Regions from separate parts of the Homo sapiens genome. Here all the other regions are linked to region 2. Evidence: promoter capture Hi-C in 16 types of primary human blood cells and fetal thymus (Javierre and others, 2016). All regions are on one chromosome and are shown on one strand. Each heading gives the region's core, a stretch centred on a gene start or on the middle of the fragment in contact. The rest is flanking DNA. Distances are from core to core; before and after follow the strand shown. Region 1 has its middle 14 kb from the start of SMCR2. Region 2 holds the start of SMCR5 (Smith-Magenis syndrome chromosome region, candidate 5). Region 3 holds the start of RAI1 (retinoic acid induced 1).

Region 1 (4,257 bases), core at 296-2,795, 120 kb after region 2:
GTTTCGAACTCCTGACCTCAAGTGATCCACCCTCCTCGGCCTCCCAAAATTCTGGGATTACAGGCATGAGCCACCACGCCCAGCCCCTTTTTTTCTTTAAATCATCTTACATCCTGTTCTAAGCCCCTATCCTGCTGGCTGGTGGGCAACTGAATCTCAGCCATTATTGGGAGCTTCTTTCTTCTCCAGAGCCACACAAAGGTCCCAAGGCCATGATGAGTCTGGCCACCGGGTCTGGCAAAGGAGGCCAGCAAAGCTCTCTGAGACAAGCTAGGGACCAGGCTGCCTGCACTGGAGCATGGGGTGGGGTTAGTAAAACAGAACAAAACCAAAATTAATATCTGCTGTTTGTCTAGAACCCTGGAGCTTTGCTGCTCAATATGGTTGTCATTAGCCACGTGTAGCTAGGTACATTTCAATCAATTTAAAAGAAATAAAACTTAAAATTGTGTGTGTGTGTGTGTGTGTTTCTTTTAGAGTCTCACTCTATCACCCAAGCTGGAGTACAAATGGTGCGGTCTCAGCTCACTGCAACCTCCACCTCCCGGGTTCAAGCGATTCTTCCGCTTCAGCCTCCCTAGTAGCTGGAACTATAGGCACATGCCACCACACCCGGGTAATTTTTGTATTTTTGGTAGAGACAGGGTTTCACTCTGTTGGCCAGGCTGGTCTTGAACTCCTGACCTTGTGATCCGCCTACCTTGGCCTCCCAAAGTGCTGGGATTACAGGCATGAGCCACCGCGCCCGGCCTTTAAAATTGTTATTATTATACTAGTCACTTTCTGGTGTTCAGGAGCGGTGTGTGGCCACCCTGTGGGACCTGGTATAGGAAGTTCTATTGGGCTGTACTGCCAGAAGCGTTCAACCACTGACATGAGTTCTGCCCCTCTGAGTGGGGTGACCTGCCCATTTACAGATGGGGATGCAAGGATCAAGCACAAAATGACTTACCCAAGGTCACTGGCAGCAGTTGGCACCTCCAAGCTCCATGGGCAGTGGCACCCCGGGCCACGGGGTAGAGTGGGTGCTTGCCAATGTTGGCTGCTGAGTGAACGTGCCAGTGCCGTCCTCTGCCTCCTTGGAGGAAAGCTGCCTGTGAAGAACAGTCCTGCCCTCGTTCAGAGGTACGGCCTCCTGATCTCAGCCTGGTAAGGCACTGTGTGGCTCTAGCCCTACCTCAGGTACCACACTTTGCCTCTTTGGGACCCTGTGTCCCCGTCCATGAGATGGAGATTGTGACCACTGCATAGGGCTGCCTGGGATTTCCATGAGTTAATGTCTGTGAAGTGCATAGTACAATCTAACTCAATCATACGACGTTTGAGAGATGATGGGATTTGGCACACAGGAATGAGCACTGCGCCTCCTCAGAGTGACTCCCAGAGGTCAAGTTGGGATTTACTTAGACTGAGACCCGCAACCTTATCATGCTTCTAGCATTCATCTGACAAACATCTATTAAGCTTGCTTTTGGGGGCCACGACCGATGTAAGCCTGCAGCTGTGAGGTCTACCCTAGGCTAGGGAAGGTTATTCTGAGAAGAAAGTGAACCCCAAGGAAGGGGAAATCCAGAAGAAGATTCCTGATGACATCTGACAGCTGGATCCAGCTGTTCCTGAAGCTTTTATATTCCTGTTTTGTTTGCCAATAATTTTTTTTGTCATTTACAACTCAAAGCCAGGCCGTCTGGTCCAACCCCTTGTCCCCTGATACTTGATGCTTCTCCATAGCAGCTATGACAGTCTCTGCTTGGATGCTGCTCATGATGGGGATCTCACTACCTACCAAGGGAGCTCTACAAGGGCAGAACCAACTCTGGTGCAAGTGAGAGCTGATAATCTATTGCTCTTGTCTGGAAATGGTGTGCACAGCTGGGAGCTCCCCTGGATTGGATTCAGGGCAGTGGAAAGAGGACCCTTCATGGTTCAGTAGACCTGAATTCAAATTTCAGGCCTGGTGGTGACTCACTGTGTGACCTGAGTGAGGCAAGGGACTTCCCCTACCTGAACCTCAGTTTCAACATCTGTAAAATGGTCTCCCTGGCCACACTGATTTGGTGAGGACACCACGAGGATTAAGCAAGAAAATGTGTGTGAAGCTCTGGGCGCACGCCAGTGTGTGGCACACAGGGGACACCTGAGGGCCACATCCCTCCTGTGGGTAATGCTAATGGACACTGCACACCCATCTGAGAGGGTCCACTCTGCGTCCATAAGAGGTTGGCACTGGGGAGTCCGCACTGGGCCAGGCTGCTCCTGCTCTGCGGAGCGTCTGCTGCAGCTGTGACTCACAGCCCGACCACACTCACAGCCCAAGACTCGGAGCCGTCTGTTGTTATGGCGACGCAAGCCCACTGGAGTCCTGGGCTGTCAGTCATCAAGGTCTGACGCTGGGGGTGTGTTTTGGCGTGTGGGTGTGGCCTGTGTGTTTGTGTAGGGGGATGGGCGTGTGAATGCTATTCCTGCGTGTTCAAGGCAGTGTGCTGGTGTTTGTGTGTGGACTTCCTGTGTGTGCAAGGCTGGGCATGTCTGCATTGAGGGCGTTTGTCTGTGTGTGGTGTTGAGCTGTGTGTGCGGTCTGGGTGTCTGTGGGCTGTGTGTGTGTGTAATGTGCCTTAGGAACGCTGGCCCTGAGGCAGGGTGGACAGGAGGGTGGCCCAGGGAGGGGTGTAGGCCTGGGTGTCTATCGCTCTGACCTGGTGGCCCTGGGTTGGTCACTGCACCTTTCTCAGCCTGTTTCCCCCTCAATAAGCACAGCAGGTTGCAAAGGGCACTCACACTCGCTATTTCATTTAATCCTCCTGTGATCCTGTACCAGCAGCTGCTCACTCAACTCATATTTAGAGTCCACTCTGTGTCAGGCCCTGGGGATACAGCCATGAACAGAGACTTCCTCCGCTGAGGGTCTCCAGTCTCCAGTCTGGTGGGAGATGGACAATACACAAACAAGCAAACAAAACCAGAGACTCCAGTGGGTGCTGGGAGAAGGAACAGCAGGAGGAGGGCACAGAGAGTGATGGGGTGGAAACTGAGGACAGGGTGGTCAGAGAGGTGACTTATGAGCAGAGGTTCTGAGGAAGGAGGCCAGAGTCATGGGAAGAGCATCGCAAGCATCGCAACAGTAAGTGCAGAGGCCCTGAGGCAGGTGGAGGTTCATGTATCTGTGGCCCAACGAGCAGGCCGCGCACTGCAGCGGTGTGGGTGGGATGGGCAAGGCCACTGCCATTTGCAGTTTGTGGATTCCAAGGCAAGTGCACTGGTGAAAACAGCCCATTGTTCATCCACTGATGAATGGAGAGGCAACATGCGGTATGTCCAGACAAGGAAATAGTATTTGTCAATAAAAAGGAACAAATGGCCAGGCGCGGTGGCTCATGCCTGTAATCCCAGCACTTTGGGAGGCCAAGGCGGGCAGATCACTGAGATCAGGAGTTTGAGACCAGCCTGACCAACATGGAGAAACCCTGTCTCTACTAAAAATACAAAATTAGCCAGGCTTGGTGGTGCATGCCTGTAATCCCAGCTGCTTGGGAGGTTGAGGCAGGAGAATCGCTTAAACGCAGGAAGCGGAGGTTGCAGTGAGCTGAGATCGTGCCATTGCACTCCAGCCTGGGCCACAAGAGTGAAACTCCGTCTCAAAAAAAAGGAACAAGCTACTGGTACGTACAAAAATATCAGTGAATCTTAAGTGGATTATGCTGAGCAAAAGTAGCCAGCCTTGAAAGGCTGTAGGCTGCAGGATTCTATTATGTGACATTCCGGGAGTGACAAAATGATAGGGACAGAAAACTAATCAGCGGTTGCCAGGAACTGGGGATGGGGAAAAGGCTGACCTGACCACAAGGGGGCTTGAGGCAGTTATGTGATTTGACACATTTGTCAAAATCCATAGAATTGTATGCTAAAAATTGATGAGTTTAATTGTATGTAAATTATACGTAAATATACCTGGCCACACACCAACACCCAACATCTCACAAAGCTTGGGGCTGAGTGACCCTCCCACCTCCCGGAGAGCTCGTGAGAGCAGCTCTGGGAAACACACTTTTCTTCAGGTCCTGTCATTTCATTTTCAACTGCCTTGTCCTTAATCTGTCTTTGCCGTGAATATAGTAGTTTATTTTCTTTTTTGTTTATGTTTTTGTTTTTGTTTTGTTTTGAGATGGAGTTTTGCTCTTGTAGCCCAGGCTGGAGTGCAATGGCGCGATCTCAGCTCACTGCAACCTCCGCCTCCTGGGTTCAAATGATTCTCCTGCC
Region 2 (4,088 bases), core at 495-2,994:
GGGTAAGACTCCCTGCTGCAGCACAGAGGACGGAAGGTTGGAGGAAGTGGTGGGCTGAGAAAGGAGCAGGGCATTCCAGCCGCCAGGAGCTGCCTAGCTTGGTGGCGGGGAAGAATACCGCCTATTTGGGAACCTGAGATGGAGTTCTCTCTGTGGTTTAGCTAGTCTGGAGGAGACAGGCCTCAAGGGCTGGGCCCCTTCCCCAAGAGGGCAGCCTCTGGTGGGGGGTGGAGATTCCAGCAGAGAGGTAAGAAGCCTGGCAGGTTCCTAGCTCCTGGGAGGGGAGGGGGTGAGGATGCCTGTGGAATACAGATTAAAGACAGCGCTGACTCTGAGTGCTGGGCCCGGGACACTCCTGGGCCTGCCCAGAAAGCAAGGCTGGCCCAGAAGGGGAGAGACAGGGACACAGCCTCCTAAGCAAATGCAGAGCCTAGCATTACAGAGTGGGGGTTCTCAAGGGGCTTCTCCCCCAGCCAGCTAGACACTGGGCATGGACTTCCCTCATATCTGGAAAGGTCTTGATAAGGCTCAGACTGCTGGAGCCGTGTAACTGCAGCACCCTCAAAGGCTGATGCCGTCTGACCCCCTCCTGTGTCCAAGGTGCCTCAATAGATTTTACTTCTCTCAAACTGCCCTTCTGGGAGGTGACATCACCTGTCATTTCACAGACATGCAAACTGAGCTCCAGAGAAGAGAAGGGGGTATTCCAAACTCCAGCCTCTGGGGGCCCTCCCTGGTCCCCCTGTCCTAGGCCCTGAGGGGTGGGACCTCAATCGGGGAGATGCCCGTGGGGCTTTGGTGAATACAGGATACAGGCACCCAGGGGTGAAAGACATGGGCGAGGAGGTCCTGGTTCCCCCTGAAAATTTCAGAAAACTGGTTTTCTTGGGAGAAAAAAAGGGTGGGTGGCCGGGTGCGATGCCTCACGCCTGTAATCCTAGCACTTTGGGAGGCCAAGGTGGGTGGATCACTTGAAGTCAGGAGTTTGAGACCAGCCTGGCAAACATGTTGAAACCCCGTCTCTACTAAAAATATAAAAATTAACTTGACATGGTAGCATGCGCCTGTAATTCCAGCTACTCGGGAGGCTGAGGCATGAGAATTGCTTGAACCTGGGAGGCGGAGGTTGCAGTGAGCCAAGATTGCGCCATTGCACTCCAGCCTGGGGACAAGAGTAAAACTCTTGTCTTAAAAAAAAGCCTGGGTGGAGTGGCTCACTCCTGTAATCCGAGCACTTTGGGAGGCCGAGGCAGGCGGATCATGAGGTCAGGAGATCGAGACCATCCTGGCTAACACGGTGAAACCCCGTCTCTACTAAAAATACAAAAAATTAGCCGGGCGAGGTGGCGGGTGCCTGCAGTCCCAGCTATGCAGGAGGCTGAGGCAGGAGAATGGCGTGAACCCCGGGGGGCGGAGCCTGCAGTGAGCCAAGATCGCGCCACTGCACTCCAGCCTGGGCAAGGGCGAGACTCCGTCTATTAAAAAAAAAAAAAAAAAAAAAGGGTGGGGAGGGGACTAGAGAGAAGTCCCAGGGCCTACCATCACTGATTTCCCGCTACCCACTTGGCCAGGCTACCTACTAAGGGTTTCCATGTGGGGATTTGGCTCCTGGGGCTGCAGAATTATGATAATGAGGCCTAAGTCCACATGGGTCTTGTTCCTTCATCTGTAGACCAAATACAAACCCTATGTAGCCATGTGCCACACTCTTCAACTGTGTGTAGCTACTGTTGTGCTGAAAAAAATTCACTCAGGGCCTAAGAGCTTTGGGCAGTTAAATCCCCCTCCCCGACAACAGACTAACAGGTCCCATTTTGATATCAAGGGCTGGGGTTTCAAGACAGGGAACTGTGGGGCCCACGCTGTCCTGGCCTCCCTGGAGGCCTGGCTGCTCTCATGCCAGGAAGGGAGCTTCCATTTACTACGGGCCTAGGATGGCCGCCCCGCTGCCCCCAGCGCTCCCTGGGTGGGTGCGGATCCTGGCCAGTCCCCCAGACACGCAGTCTGCTGACCAGAAGCAGCGACCTTCGGGGAGAGCCAGCCACCAGCCAGCCACTGCTCCAGAGGCAGGCCTGGGGCCACCCGGGAGGCTTTCCTCACCACGGAAAATATTTGCCTTTGGTTGTCGGCTGATGCCTTGTCTTGTGTCTGAATGGACAACTGGCTGATTTCTCTCTCTTTGGAACAGCCATGAAATGCGAAGGTGTTTAAGAGTAAAAACCAGGCGAGGGCAACTGGGCCTGGCGTCCAGCTGTTTTGAACAACACTCTTGTTTTTCTCCCAGAGTGAACAGAATACTTTCTGCGGTTCAGAATACTCTGTGCACTGGCCCCTCTTCCCAGGCCCCGCCCCAGCCCCCTCAGGCCTCACCTCCAGCTGCTGCAGACCATTCCAGAACTCCCTCCCTCTTGGCTTCTAGTCACTCAGCATCTGGGGGAGAGAGCCTCTTCCAGCTGTACATAGCTAGCTTGGCCTGGCCCCAGAACTGCTGTGTTCTGGAAAGTTGTAGGAGAATCCCTCTTGGCGGGCTCTCCAGCATGGAGAATCGCAGGCCTCTGCTCCGGAAAGGGAGGCTTTTGAGAGGTCAGATTCACCACAGCCAGACCAATGAACTGTGAGGGCTCATAGGGGCTGGGGCTCCGGTTTCAGGGGTGAGAGGAGCCACCATCTGCCCCCATGCCCACTCTGATTGTAAATGGCTAGACTCTGGTGCCGGGGTCAGCTCTGGATTCATATCCCAGCTCCTGCATATGTATATGCTGGGTGACCTTGGGCAGTTTACTTAACCTCTCTGTGCTTTGTGTGCCTAAGCTGCAAGATACTCTAAATTAAACAGCAAACTTTCAGTGCTGTTGTGGGACGAAATGGGATAATGTGCTTGGTAGCTGGCAGGGGCTCAATAAAAGGTAGCAACTTCCAGGGCCACCAGTTCATGGGGAGCCAGGTCCAAGTCTTGTACTTTCTATGCCTCCCAGGGAGCCACGTATGTCTGCGACAGAGCTGGGGAGGACATTCTGGGGCTGAGGGTTGAGGTCTGCCCATAGAGCAGCGGCCTGTACCTGCAGGCAGGTAGAGTATCATCCTGGCTGAGTCTCAGTGCTCCTCAAACATTAAAGTGTACATCCTGGTGAGACGCAGATTTTGATGCAGCGGGTCAGGTGGGACAGGGGTTCTGCAGCTGTAAGGAACTCCCAGGTCAAGCCAGTGTGGCAGGTCTGTGACCGCAGCTGGTACGGCAAGATCTCAGCCCTGGAAGACTCTGGGTTCTGCTGAGGCTGGGCTCAGAGAGAGAATACAAGTTTTGTCCTGTCCAAGGAGCACCCTCCAGGATTTCAGGACAAGGCTCTGGCTCTGTGTCCCCAAGCCCTCAGTCTCAGAGCTTGGGTCCTGCAGTGGCCTGGGCAACCCTCCGGACTCTCCATTCAGCATTTGTTCCTGACAGCAGTGCACGGATAAAGAGCAGTTTCATGCTGCTGAACTTGCAATCACTTCAAGGCCTGGGCCCCTCTGGGCCTCAGTTTCCCCACTGGCACAGTGGGAAGCTGGGATAAGCTAATCCCACCCTTTCCCCTTGGTAATTCCCCACATTGCTCTTCCCTTCCCTTCATCCCTTCCCAAAACACAGGTCTGAGGCCTGAGCATCCATCCTAGGGGCTGGGCCCCCATCCCCATGACTGCAGTCATGGGGTACAAGACTCATGCAGACTCGTAAGAACAGCCACTTCTGACCTGGGGCCTCGATGTTCCAGGCACTGTCCTAGGCATTTGCATCTACAAACTTCTCACCATAATCCAATCACCACTGTTTTACAGATGAGGAAACTGAGCCCCACGGGGTGAAGCCTATTGCCTGAGATCTTGCAGTTGGTAACGGGTGCAGGCTGGACTCAGGCCCCCACACATGCCCAGGCCCTTGAGTATTTGTAAGGGAAGCAGCTGTTTGGTTTTCTTGGCACAGAGCATCTGCCTAGCTGGTGAGGGCATGGGGAAAGAGGTGCCCAATCTAGTTGGGGATGGGAGGGTAAAATGGTACTACCTCTTTGGAGAGCTTTCTGGCAATATGGACCCAAATGCAAATTACATGTGCC
Region 3 (4,583 bases), core at 954-3,453, 98 kb after region 2:
CTTTTGCCAGAGTTATGGGGCTGAGCCTGCCCTGAGATCAGAATGATGTGTCCACTTCTGTGTCACGCAAAAGGCCACTTTTCCTTGCTCCTGGGCCCCGAATATACCGGCTTGCCTGTCAAGAGGGGGAGGGGTGGGAAACTAGAAGATTCCTTTCCAGTTTCTAGATCCCGAGGGCCACGTCCCAGGAAAGCCTCTGAAAACCCAGCTGTGTGGTCAGCAGGGAGGGGCCACCATTCAGTCTGCAGCGAGGGCTGCCCCCCACCTGGGGTGGGCCTGACCCTGAGCAGAGCGAGGACTGTATGGAGAATGGAGGGGGGCAGGGGCAGGAAGAGAAGCAGAGCCCCCAGCTCGGGGCTCCCATCACGCTGGCGCCTCCACATCAGAGCTAGCCTAACCCACCCCCGCCTCTCCTCCCAGGGCAGCAGACAACTAAAAAAAGATAAAATAAAAAGAAGTAATTCCCCTGCTCTGACGTCAGCGCGAGGTCTTAACAGCCCGGCAGCGGCATGAAACTGGATTGCAACCAGATGTAATGCCCTTGAATTCTCAACACACTACTGCATTGGAAAGACATAAAAGGGGGGCGGGGGACAGTATTGGTGGGAGGAACCGTGCAGATCCCGAGTGGGTCCCTGAATCCGGGCCCGCCGAAACCGCGGGGAAGGCGGCGCGGGAGAGTGTGCGGCGCGCGGAGCAGCGCCCGGCCGGCTCCGCCATTCAGGCGCGCGGCCTCCCCTCCCCCAGCCCCCACCGGCGCATTGTTACACTCGCTCCCATCCATTCAGAGCCCGAGGCCCGCCGCGCCCCCGCCAGCCCGGGCTCCGCGCAGGAGAGCACCGCGGCAGCCCGCACTCCGGCCCCTGCGTGGACTGGATAACGACCAAGAGCCCCAAGAAAGAAAACTGCTAGCCGGGAAAACGGGCGCCCCAGGAAGCTGGGGCCGCGACGGCCTAGGGCCTGGCTGGTGTTTCGCTTCCCCTCCGCCCCACCACGGAGGCCCCTGGCGCGACCAGGCTCCAAATGTCACCCTCGCGTCCTGCCACCCCTTGTCCCCGCCGCACTCGGCCCCCATGTCCTCCTCCCGGGTTCCCTGCCTTCAAGGCGCGTGAGAGGGGGGGCCGGCCTCGAAAAGGGCGGCGGGCTGCGCCGCCGTCTGTGGGGCGCAAGGCTCGCGTGTCCGGGGCCCCCGCCCGTGACGTCATCCCCGAAGGGCCCGTGCCTCCCGGGCCTGGCCGCTACAGAGCTCCCCAGGTCGCGGGGGCCGCTTCCTGCCCGGCCTCGGGGCCTGCGCACAGGCCCCGGGGCCGCTGCCCGGGTAGGGACACCGCAGAGAGCCCGAGCACCCATCTCGCCACGCACGGCCTTCGCCGGCCCTGACTCCCAAGCGATGGCCACGCCGGGCCCGGGTCACGCATGGGGAAGTCAGCTCCCCGTCCCCCACCTCGGACGCACTCACAAAGCTCACCTCCGCCCCCGGCGCCCCGCGAATGCACCCCACGTCCCCACCCCACGCTCCGCAAAGACTCCGCGCCTCGGCGCAAGCAGATCCCTTGCCACACTCGCCCCTCGCGCCCCCATGCCCCCACCCGACCTCAGCTGGCCGCACATCCCCCAGAAGACCCTCAGCCGCGGCGCAGGGCGCCCCCACCCTGCAGCTCCCCAGACGTCCATCCGGTGACCTCGCGCACCCCCCACACCACACAAAGCAAGGACCCCGCGGACCCCACATCTCCACCCAGCGCGCGCGCTCGGCGTCCGAACCCGCCTCGGCTCATCACCCGGCCTAGGATCCCGACGCCTCGCGCCGCCCCCGCCCCGGGGCAGGATACACTGCGCCCCCCGCGCCCCGGCGCTCGCTGCTCACCTCGGCGCCCGCGCTCACTCGGGGGCCTTGGGTCTGGCGCTGCGACTTCGCGGCCCGGAGGCCTGGGTGGCCATGGGGGTCGGGGCGCGGCGGCCCGGCCGGCCCGCGGCCAGGCAGGAAGGAGGGTGGGCCGCGGCGCCCCCTCCTCGCGCCGGCGCTAGGGCCGCGGGCAGGGCGGCCTGCTCGGCTCGCCTCTCGCCCTCGCTGCACTCGCTCTCCCACTCGTCTCTCGGAGCCCAGCCGCGGGCGGGGGCGGCGCCCGGGGACGCGGGGAGCGGGCCTTGGCCGCGCACCCGGCCGGGCCTGCCTGGTGTCCGCGGGTGCCGCGAGGAATGCGATCCCCTCCGCACAGGAAGAGCGGACGAGCGGACGGGCGGGCGGGCGACGCGCGGGGGGAGAAGGAGAGCAAGAGCGCGAGGAAAAAAGTTCCCGGGCGGCCTGGCTGCGCTCGCTCGCGGCCCCGGGCGCCAGGTGGGCCGTGCGCGCCCCGACAGCACCCCCTGGCGGTCCGCGCGCCCCACTGCGCGCCCCCCGCCCGCTGGCCGGCCTGCGGGAGGGGGCCTCTGCGGTGGGATCCCGGTGCGGCCTGGGAGGACACTAGCGCCCTGCGTACAGGAGCTTCCAGCGTCAGGCCAGGCCCCCACCCTCACCCCACCATTAGCCCTCACCTGTGCCCACTTCTTTGCAGTTTGAGAAACATTTTCGATTTCAAAACTCCATTGGCTTCATGTAAACTTCATTTACTGGGCACCTGGCACCTTGCTGAGTCTTGAGGAATCAGCAGAGACAATGCGGTCCCTGCTGTCGTGGAGCTGGCATCCTGGTGGGAAGAGACAGACAGCAAACAAATGCTTAGATACATGACGAAGATAATTTTAGAGCAGTAAGTGCTAGGACGAAAATTAGCAGGTGAAGTGACGGCTAGGGCTCCTTGGCTGGGGGAGAGAGAAGGAGGCCTGTCTGTGCAAAGATCTAAATAGCAAGAGGAACCGCCATGGGTAGAGTCTGGGAAGAGCATTTTGTTCTTTTAGAGGCAGGGTCTTGCTGTGTTGCCCAGGCCGAACTTGAATTCCTGGCCTCAAACAGTCCTCCCACCTCAGCCTTCTGAGTAGCTGGGACTACAGGGGCCTGCCCTCCTGGGAAGAGCATCATTGGCAGAAAGAACATCAAGTGCAAAGGTCCTGAGGCAGGAGAGAACTTGGTGAGTAAGTGGAATTGTGAGGAGGCCGTCAGCAAGGGGACAAGTAATGGGCACATTGAAGTCAGAGCCATATCGGGAGGGCCAGAGCCTGCAGGGCTGCAGAGAGCTCAGTGAGGAATTTGTTTGCAATTCTAGTGCAAGGAAGGTAGCCACTGGCAGACTTTAAACAGAGGCATGTTGAATGAGAGAGTCCTTGCATGAAACTTAAGGTACAGACCTCGGAGCAATTTCATGCCTAGGTCTCTACTTGCCATAGCTCAGGTGGGAGCTCACTGCCACCTGCTTGGGAAGCCTCTCAGCCCCACCCAGGCTCTAGGGTCTGTGGGATATGACCCCATTAACAGCCCCATCGAAGCCTCCCTCATTTGTCCTTTGGTAGGGCAGAGGGGAGCTGGTCAAGGCATCAGAGCTTGTGGGTGACCTGGGACAAGTGAATCCTGCATCTGCAAAATAAGGTATTGTGATAGATGGGGGGCCCTCACTCTGTCCCAGGCCTGCTGTGCCCCTTCTGTGCATGGTCTCATTAGATCCTGGTGCCCCCTCTGTGAGGTCGGCTCATCACATTTTGTGGATGAGGAAACAGGCGCAGAGTGGTGAAGTCCCCTGTCCAGGTTCTCAAGCTACAGGACAGAATCAACACAGGTCCCCACAGTCCTTCCTACTGGACTTGGCTACCCGTCTCCCAGGGTGAATGTCAAGAGCAAGACAGAGCTGGATCCCAGTGCGAACTGTGTTGTTTTAAGCTTGTTTTAAGTGCGGTTTCTGGATGACAGATCTGGTTTATTTTTATTTATTTATTTATGTATTTTTTTTTTGAGACGGAGTTTTGCCCCTGTTGCCCTGCCTGGAGTGCAATGGTGCGATCTTGGCTCACCACAACCTCTGCCTCCCAGATTCAAGCAATTCTCCTGCCTCAGCCTCCCGAGTAGCTGGGATTACAGACATGCACCGCCACACCCACCTAATTTTGTATTTTTAGTAGAGACAGGGTTTCTCCATGTTGGTCAAGCTGATCTTGAACTCCTGACCTCAGGTGATCCACCTGCCTCGGACTCCCAAAGTGCTGAGATTTCAGACATGAGCTACCGCGCCTGGCAAATCTGGTTTCTAAACGTGGCTCCTCTATGCCCAGCTGGGTGGCTTTGGGCAAACTACTTAACTTGCTGAGCCTCCGTTTCCTCATCTGTAGAATGGGGATAATAGTACCTACCTCATGGGTCTGTTGAGAGGATTGAATGAGGTACGTGTGGAAAGCATTTAGCTCACAGCCTGGCATGCAGTAAGTGCTATTACTGCTTTAAGATGCTAGATTAATGGGAACAGTCCCTATCATCCATCCAGGGCTCCCAATCTCCACCCCGAGCTGGTCTCCTGCCCTCCCTGCCTTACCTTAACCTGCTCCTGAGTGGAGCCTAAGGGAAGGCTGGTTCTAGGGACCCCAGTGGGAGGCAAGACAAGGAGGTCTTGCTGGGAGATTTCTGGTTCCCACACAAGGGTCCCCAAGACTAGCTTCTC

What was found. Contacts are between HindIII fragments. The CHiCAGO score rates a contact against its expected background, and 5 or more counts as called.
Region 1: a contact is called between a fragment that was not itself captured here and the fragment with the promoter of SMCR5 in region 2, in 1 of 17 cell types (megakaryocytes). The highest score is 5.6, in megakaryocytes.
Region 3: a contact is called between the fragment with the promoter of RAI1 here and the fragment with the promoter of SMCR5 in region 2, in 11 of 17 cell types (megakaryocytes, endothelial precursors, M2 macrophages and 8 more). The highest score is 11.2, in megakaryocytes.

Annotation. Positions count from the first base shown.
Region 1 is chr17:17,661,591-17,665,847 of GRCh38, reverse strand. No RefSeq gene overlaps it. Among named protein-coding and RNA genes, the nearest start is that of SMCR2, 14 kb to the left of the region's middle. RefSeq lists enhancers at 2,026-2,165, 2,656-2,745. The HindIII fragment of the contact is 158 bases long and covers 1,467-1,624 here.
Region 2 is chr17:17,777,185-17,781,272 of GRCh38, reverse strand. SMCR5 (Smith-Magenis syndrome chromosome region, candidate 5) reads left to right here and starts at 1,744. Exons shown (of 1, transcript NR_024007.1): 1 at 1,744-4,088. The region is part of intron 2 of RAI1 (retinoic acid induced 1); the gene reads right to left. The region is part of intron 1 of LOC124903942 (a long non-coding RNA gene); the gene reads left to right. RefSeq lists enhancers at 1-738, 1,628-2,517. The HindIII fragment of the contact is 16,515 bases long and covers 1-4,088 here.
Region 3 is chr17:17,679,078-17,683,660 of GRCh38, reverse strand. RAI1 (retinoic acid induced 1) reads right to left here and starts at 2,203. Exons shown (of 6, transcript NM_030665.4): 1 at 1,868-2,203. RefSeq lists silencers at 543-1,492, 1,479-1,651, 1,663-1,742, 1,803-1,942, 1,973-2,482 and an enhancer at 1,561-2,162. The HindIII fragment of the contact is 10,976 bases long and covers 1-3,813 here.